2 separate regions of the Homo sapiens genome follow, and region 1 is linked to region 2. The links are contacts of gene promoters, found by promoter capture Hi-C in blood cells and fetal thymus (Javierre and others, 2016). All regions are on one chromosome and are shown on one strand. Each heading gives the region's core, a stretch centred on a gene start or on the middle of the fragment in contact. The rest is flanking DNA. Distances are from core to core; before and after follow the strand shown. Region 1 has its middle 8.0 kb from the start of LINC01678. Region 2 holds the start of DNMT3L (DNA methyltransferase 3 like).

What was found. The method cuts DNA at HindIII sites, captures the fragments that hold promoters and counts their contacts. A CHiCAGO score of 5 or more calls a contact.
Region 1: a fragment that was not itself captured here is called in contact with the fragment with the promoter of DNMT3L in region 2 in 3 of 17 cell types (M2 macrophages, M0 macrophages and endothelial precursors); the score reaches 7.5 in M2 macrophages.

The regions. Positions count from the first base shown.
Region 1 is chr21:44,149,999-44,153,648 of GRCh38, forward strand. No RefSeq gene overlaps it. Among named protein-coding and RNA genes, the nearest start is that of LINC01678, 8.0 kb to the right of the region's middle. The HindIII fragment of the contact is 1,519 bases long and covers 1,280-2,798 here.
Region 2 is chr21:44,259,857-44,263,466 of GRCh38, forward strand. DNMT3L (DNA methyltransferase 3 like) reads right to left here and starts at 2,041. Exons shown (of 12, transcript NM_175867.3): 1 at 1,884-2,041; 2 at 1,298-1,410; 3 at 939-983. The coding sequence starts at 1,403. RefSeq lists an enhancer at 1,756-2,315. The HindIII fragment of the contact is 9,625 bases long and covers 1-3,610 here.

The sequences.
Region 1 (3,650 bases), core at 789-3,288, 110 kb before region 2:
AAAGAAAGAAAGAAAGAAACAGGGTCTCACTGTGTTGCCCAGGCTGGTCCCAAACTCCTGGGCTCAACTGATCCTCCTGCCTCAACCTTCCAAAGTGCTGGGATGCCAGGTGGGAGCCACTGGGCTCAGTCTTGTGTTTTTAAAACTCATCACCAAACCCTCGGTCATCTAGATTTTCTCCTGTGTTATCTTCTAGGAGTTTGATAGTTTTGCATTTCACATTTAGGTCTGTGATCATTCTGAGTGAATTGCTGTAGGGGTGGAATGTGTGTGTTGGGATTCATTTTGGGAATGTGAACGCCCCGTTGTTTGGCTCCATTTGGTGGAGGCTGTGCCCCATTGCATTGCTTTTGCCGCTTTGTCACAGACCAGTTGACTCTCCATGCGGATTTGTTTCTGGGCTCTCTCTCCGCTTTCACTGGTCTGTTTTGCCAACACCCTGTCGTGAGTACTGTAGCTTTATAGTAAGTCCGGAGCCTGCCAAGTCTTCAGAGTTGTAATCTGCCCCTATCAGATGTCCAAACCATGCCCCCAGGGCCCTGAGATCAGATCCCCAGGAGGGCCTGGCTGGAGTACCCATAGCCCTGAGCGCCAGGAGAGCAGGGTCTGCCTGCTGTGGGAGGTCTGTCCTCGTGAGGCCGGACACCCAGCCCTGGTTGTCCTGGTCCACCTGGTATGACCCTGCCCTGTTCCTGCTTCTCCCAAGCACCCGTGACCCTGGGAAGCCTGTCACAAACACCTCCCTGGACAACCCATGCTACAGAGTGCACCACGCCAATTGCCACCACAGCCTCAGGCAGCACTGTCACCCACAGCAGAGGCCGCCCTCACAATCTCACACTTCAGGAGCCCAGGTGGGACGCTAGCCAGGGTCCCTAGAGGTGGCTTTGCCGGCCCAGGCAGCCCCATCTCTCCGGGACCCCGCTGCTCCCTGGGTCCAGCCCAGGCCCTGATTCAGCAGCAGCTCCATAAAGAAGTAAAACGAGAATATTCACGGGGCCCACACTTAGTGGACTCCTGTCACATGGTGTCCAGCATGGCTCGTGGGTGAGGACAGCAAAACCACCAAGAAATGACCCGAGAGGCCAACAGCAGCTCCCTGGGAAGGCCACACTCTCCAGGAAGACATAGCAACTCTGAAACACACAACTTAGGTAGAAATCTAACAAGATATTTACAAGATCTGTGAGGAAAATTATAAAACTTTAATAAGTCAAAGAGGTAAAATGGAAAGATATTCCACACCCCTTATTATGCATAACTCCTTTTATTCCTGATAAGCTTCTTTGCTCTGAAGTGTGCTCTGAAATTAATATAGCTATTCCAGCTTTCTTGTGATTAATGTGAGTATGGTATTTCTTCCTCTGTTCATTTACTTTTAATCTACATGTGTCTATTTATTTATTTATTTATTTATTTATTTAGAGACAGAGTCTTGCTCTGCCACCCATCTCTACAGTGATGAGATCATGGCTCACTGCAACCTCCGCCTCCCGGGTTCAAGTGATTCTCCTGCCTCAGCCACCTGAGTAGCTGGTCTACAGGCACAAGCCACCACGCCTGGCTAATTTTTGTATTTTTAGTAGAGATGGGGTTTTGCCGTGTTGGCCAGGCTGGTCACGAACTCCTGACCTCAAGTGATCCGCCCGCCTCTGCCATCCAAAGTGCTGGGGTTACAGGCGTGAGCCACTGCGCCCAGCCATTGTTTTTATTTTTAAAGTGGGTTTTGTGTAGATAACATATAGTTAGGTCTTATTTTTTGATCCGTTTTGACAATCTCTGTCTTTTAATTGGTGCATTTATACCACTGACATTCAAAGTCACTGTTGATATAGTTGGATTAATATCTACCATGTTTGTTCCTATTTTCTATTTTTTGTTTTTGTTTTTTATTTTTTCTGCCTTTTGTGGTTTTAATTGACCATTTTATGATTTTATTTTCTATTCTTTCTTAGACATCAATTATACTTTTTCACATTTTCAGTGGTTACCCTAGATTTTGTGATACACATTTCCAACTATTTCAAGCCCACTTTCAAATAACACTGAACTGCTTGCTAATCGGTAGCCCAAGTATTTTTTGTTTTGTTGTTTTTTGAGACAGGGTCTTGCTCAGTCGCCCAGGCTGGAGTGCAGTGGTGTGATCACGGCTCACTGCATCCTGGAACTCTTGGCTCAGCCTCCTGAGTTGCTGGGACCACAGGCGCATGCCACAGCACCTAGCTAATTTTTGTATTTTTTATAGAGACGGGGTTTTGCCACGTTGCCCAGGCTGGCCTCAAACTCCTGGCTCAAGCAATCCACCTGCCTTGGCCTCCCAAAATGCTGGGATTATAGGCGTGAACCTCTGTGCCCCACCAAAAGTATCTTTTAATAACAGTATGTTCCCAATTCTTCACTCCTGTCCCCTGTATCACTGCTATTATTAGTTTCACTTATACATAAGCATATATAATCAAGTACATTGTTATAACTTTAACAAACTTTTGTCTGTTCCATTAAGATTAATGGCCAGGCATTGTGGCTCATACCTATAATCCCAACACTTTGGGAGACTGAGGTGGGAGGATCGTTTGAGGCCAGGAGTTCAAGACCAGCTTGAGCAACATAGTGAGAGCCCATCTCTCCAAAAATTAAAAAACGAGCTGGGCATGGTAGTGTGCACCTGTGGTCCCAGCTACTTGGGAGGCTGAGGTGGGAAGATCGCCTGAGCCCAGGTGATCAAGATTGCAGTGATTACACCATTGCACTCCAGAACAAGACCCTGTCTCAAAAAAAAAAAGAGTAAGAAAAATAAAAGCTTTTATTACCTTTCTTATTCCTTCTCGATCACTCGTGCCTTTCTTTATGTAAATCCAAGTTTCTGACTTGTACATTTTTTTTCCTCTCTAAAGAACTTTTAACACCTTTTGCAAAGCAGGTCTACTAGTAACAAATTCTCAATTTTTGTCTAAGTCTATTTTTCCTTGACTTTTGAAGGATAATTTCGCTGGATACAGAATTCTAGGCTTGTGGATTTTTTCTCAACACTTTAAATATTTCAGTCCACTGTATTTTTACTTGCACAGTTTCTGTAAAGTCAAAACTAATTCTATAAGAAATGAATGTATTCTTTGTCTGTAGTTTAGGTGTTCCTCCCCACCCGCTGCTGGCTTCTTTCAAGATTGTTTCTTTAACTTTCTGCAGTTTCAATACCAAATGCCTAGGTGTAGATTGGGCATGATACCGCTTTTAGCCTGCTCTAAAACACAAGCAGGACTTGGTGCCTGGACAGGCACCCAGCAGGGGAGACAGTTCCAGGACTCACCCCAGCTGCTGCGAGCGTTTCCCTGCAGGAATGGGATGTGGCTGGGGAAGGGGTGTGGCTGTGGAAGAGGTGTGGCTGCGGAAGCCTTCCAGGCTCCTGCTGGGTCTGGAAGTGCTCCCTACCCCCGTGTCTGTGTTGCTTTCCTGGGGCCTCCAGCCGTGGTGAGAAAGGCGTGGGTGGGGGCCGAGGGAGGGGCTGGCTGGCTTTAGACTGTGCTGCTGCGTAGATGGGTGCCTGGCAGCCTCCCTGGGCACAGCCGTGGAAGAGACTGCCATCTCCGTCAGCCTCAGTCACCCCGACCCTGAGGCCCAGCGGCTGTCCTAGAGGGGAGGAACTGGAACCT
Region 2 (3,610 bases), core at 791-3,290:
AAAATGGAAAGATATCCCATGTTCATGGATCAGAAGATTTAACATTGGCTGGGTGTGGTGGCTCATGCCTGTAATTCCAGCACTTTAGGAGGCTGAGCAGGAGAATCACTTGAACCTGGTAGACAGAGGTTGCTATGAGCCAAGATCATGCCTCTGCACTCCAGCCTGGGGGACAGAGTGAGAGTGTGTCTCAAAAAAAAAAAAAAAAAAAAAAAGAAGAAGACTTAATATTGTTAAAATAGCATGAGTCCCCAAATGGAGCTGCAGAGCCCTCTCAAAATCCCAGCTGGCTTTTGGGCAGGAGTTGACAGGCTGATCCTAAATTCATACGGAAATGCAAAGGATCCAGAAAAGGCAAACCCACGTTGAGAGAAAGTCGAGGAGTGGTTGCCTAGAGTTAAAAGAAGGGAAGCAAGAAGGGGGAATTTGGAGTGACTGTTACTAGACATGGGTTTTCTTTTCAGGGTGATGAAAACCTTCTAAAATTAGATGGTGATGATGGTTGCTGACTCTGTAAATAAACTAAAATACATTAAACTATATGCTTTAAATGAAGCTACAGGGGCCTTGGGAGGGGGAGAAGGGATACACGTGGCACAGTGGTGTCCACTGCCTCCTTCCAGGATCTCACCGTCACCCAGGCTGGAGTGCAGTGGTGTTATCATAGCTCACTGCAGCCTCGACCTCCCCAGCTCAAGCAATCCTCCCAACTCAGCCTCCTGAGTAGCTGGGACTACAGGTGCATGCCACCATGCCTGGTTAATTTTTATTTTTATTTTTTTGTAGAGACAGAGTCTCACTATGTTGCCTAGGCTGGTCTCAAACTCCTGGGCTCAAATGATCCTCCCACATTGGTCTCCCAAAGTGCTGGGATTATAGGTGTGAGCCACTGTGCCCCGTCTCTTTTGTCTGGTGTGGGCCAGTATGCAAACACTCACCTTCTATATTTCGCTGGTTAGCCTTGACTTCATATGCAATAAGATCTGGAAAGGAAGATAAGAAGTAGCCCCTTTCTTCTTCCTCTGATCTCTTAATTTAAATTCGGCCAGGAAGTGAGCATCACAATTCGTTTTCCAAAGTCACAGGAGCCTGAGGTCCCCTGCCATCCCGCCCTCACACCTTATCTTGGTGTGTTAAACGCCCATACCTGGGGGAAGACTGTGGGTGGGGAACCTCCTGCCCCAGCCCGGGTGCCTGAATAATGCATGAATACTCCAGAAGCCTGGAACTCCAGACCTCATCCAGGCCTGGGATCAGCATCCTAAGTGACTGGTCCAATAAGCAGATGAGCCCTCACCTCTGCCTGTCCCGGGTGAAACGGAGCTTGAGAGCTCACTGGATCCCACCAAAATCACGTCCATGCTGGGCTCGGCCTCTGGGTCCAGGGCTGGGATGGCCGCCATGGGGATGCTGTGTCAGGACACACGGACACAGATGTGAGAAAGCCGTCAGCCCCTGCTCAGATCCCTGATGCACCCCAGCACGGGAAGCAGCTTGCTGAGCAGACCTTGACTAGTTCAGGCCACCTGAACCCCCGCGGTGACACCCACCTGCCCAACCCAGGGATGAGGGGCAGGACAGCCAAGGCCAGTGCCAGCCCTGAGAGGGGCTCAAGGGTCCCCTGAGGCGTGCCCCCCACCTGCCTGGCCCTGTTACAACATGGAAGATGGGGCAAAAAGGGGAGGGCAGGGCCCTCATGAGGACCTGGGGCCAATGGCCGCTGCAGCCCCTGCTTTCCTCTGGGCCCAGCCTTCGACCCCTCAGGGACTCCCATGCCCCAGCCTCCTACAGTGTCCCTCAGGCCCAGCAGGGACCCCTGGGGATGGTCTTGGCCAGCCGCACCCTTGAAGGCAGCATGGTCAGGGAGTAGGAAAGAGACTCACAGGGCTGCTGCCACGGCTCCGGGTACAGCCAGCTGGTGGGTTCAAGGTTCCAGTGGTCCGGGGCTTCCAGGCTCAGGGTCCCCGGGGAGGACTGGGCCATGGAACGAGGGACGGCGCAGGCAAAGAATGAGCTGGAAGGATCCAGGCCCACCTGGGACAGCGGGTGGCCAGAGGTCACCAGGCTATGGGGGCAAAGAATCTGGGCGTGTCCCGCGGGGGCGGGGAGGGGCGGGGGCGGGGCAGCCCTTCAGTGCCGGTTTGCAGTGGGAGGGGCGAGGAGCTGCGGGGGGTCACTTGGGGTGGGGAGCTAGGAAGCTGGGGGACGGGCAGGGAAAGGGAACCCTCAGGTGGGGAGGGTTAAGAGCTCAGTGGGGCTGGGGGATTGGGGTTCAGAGGATGGGGCCCTCAGGGTGGAGTGAGGGGTGGGGTTTGGGGACCTCAGTGGGGAGTGGGGTTCAGGGGAGGGGTGGAGATGGGAGGACTGGGGATGGGGCAGATGAGGGGGGTTTCAGTAGAGGGGGGCCCTTGGGGTGGGGTGGGGGATAGGGGTGGCTGTGGGGTAGGGGCAGGGCGCTCAGAGGTGGGGTTTAGGAAGGTCATAGGGGTGGGCTTCAGGGCAAGGGTGAAGAAAGGGATGAGGGTGGAGGGTGGAGGGGTGGAGGGGTGGAGGGTGGAGGGTGGAGGGTGGAGGTAGGGCAGGGCGGGGGGTTAGGTGGAGTTGGCCCCCTGGGTGGAGATGGGTGAGGATTAGTGGAGGTGGCCCTCAGGGCAGGGTGGGTGGGTGGAGGGCGGGGCTTAGGGAGATCTGTTGGGGGATTAGGGAGTGGGGGTGGGGGTGGATGCTGAGTTGGAGATGGGGGCCTTCAGGGGAGGTGGTCCTTTGGCGGGATGGGGGTGATGATAGGGTGAGGGTGGGCACTCCGGGGCAGGGCTCAGTGGCGGGGGTCGGGGCTCAGGGCAAGGGTAGAGACGGGGTGAAAGTAGGAATGGGGGTGTGAGGCCGAGGATGGGGGTTTCAGGGGAGGTGGCCTTTAGGGCAGGATAGGGGTGAGAATGGGGTGGGGATGGGCCTCAGGGATCTCAGGGTCGGTTGGGATGGGAGTGGGGGTGGGGGTAGATGGTGAGGAGGAGATGGGGGTGTTCAGGGGAGGTGGTCCTCTGGCGGGATAGAGGGAGGGGCGTTCAGGAGCCGGGCTTGGGAGCTCAGTCTGGAGCCCCAGGTTTGGGGGGCAGCTGTGGGGGAGAGAAGGAAACAGGGAAGGCCCTGGAGGATGGGGTAAGGGGTGTTGGGTGGGGAATGTCAGGGCAGGTGGGGGGTTGGGGAGCTGGGAGGGGTAGGTTCAGGGTGGGGGTGGAACGTGGAAGCAGGGAAGGGAGCAGGAAGGTGGGGTGGGCAGAGGGGCAGTGTGGGAGGTGCGGGGTGGGTTGGGAAGGGGGACTTTGTTGGAGGGAGGTTAGGGGCTTCAGAGCAGGGGGCGGAGGACCGCCGGGCAGGGCTGGAGCCACAGGACAATTGTGCTGGTCGAAAGTGGGAGAAGACCCTTGCGGGAGGTAACCCCCCTGAAGTGTGGGCTGGGCCTGGTGACTTCCTTCTGCAAGTACTGCATGAGGGGTGACCACACAGGGGCAGCCTGATGACCCCTTGGCCCCTGGCCCAGGCCAGCGTCTCGGGGAGGATTCGCCTGGGTGGGTGCCCCGCACCGGGGCTTTCTCCCCCCACCCACAGC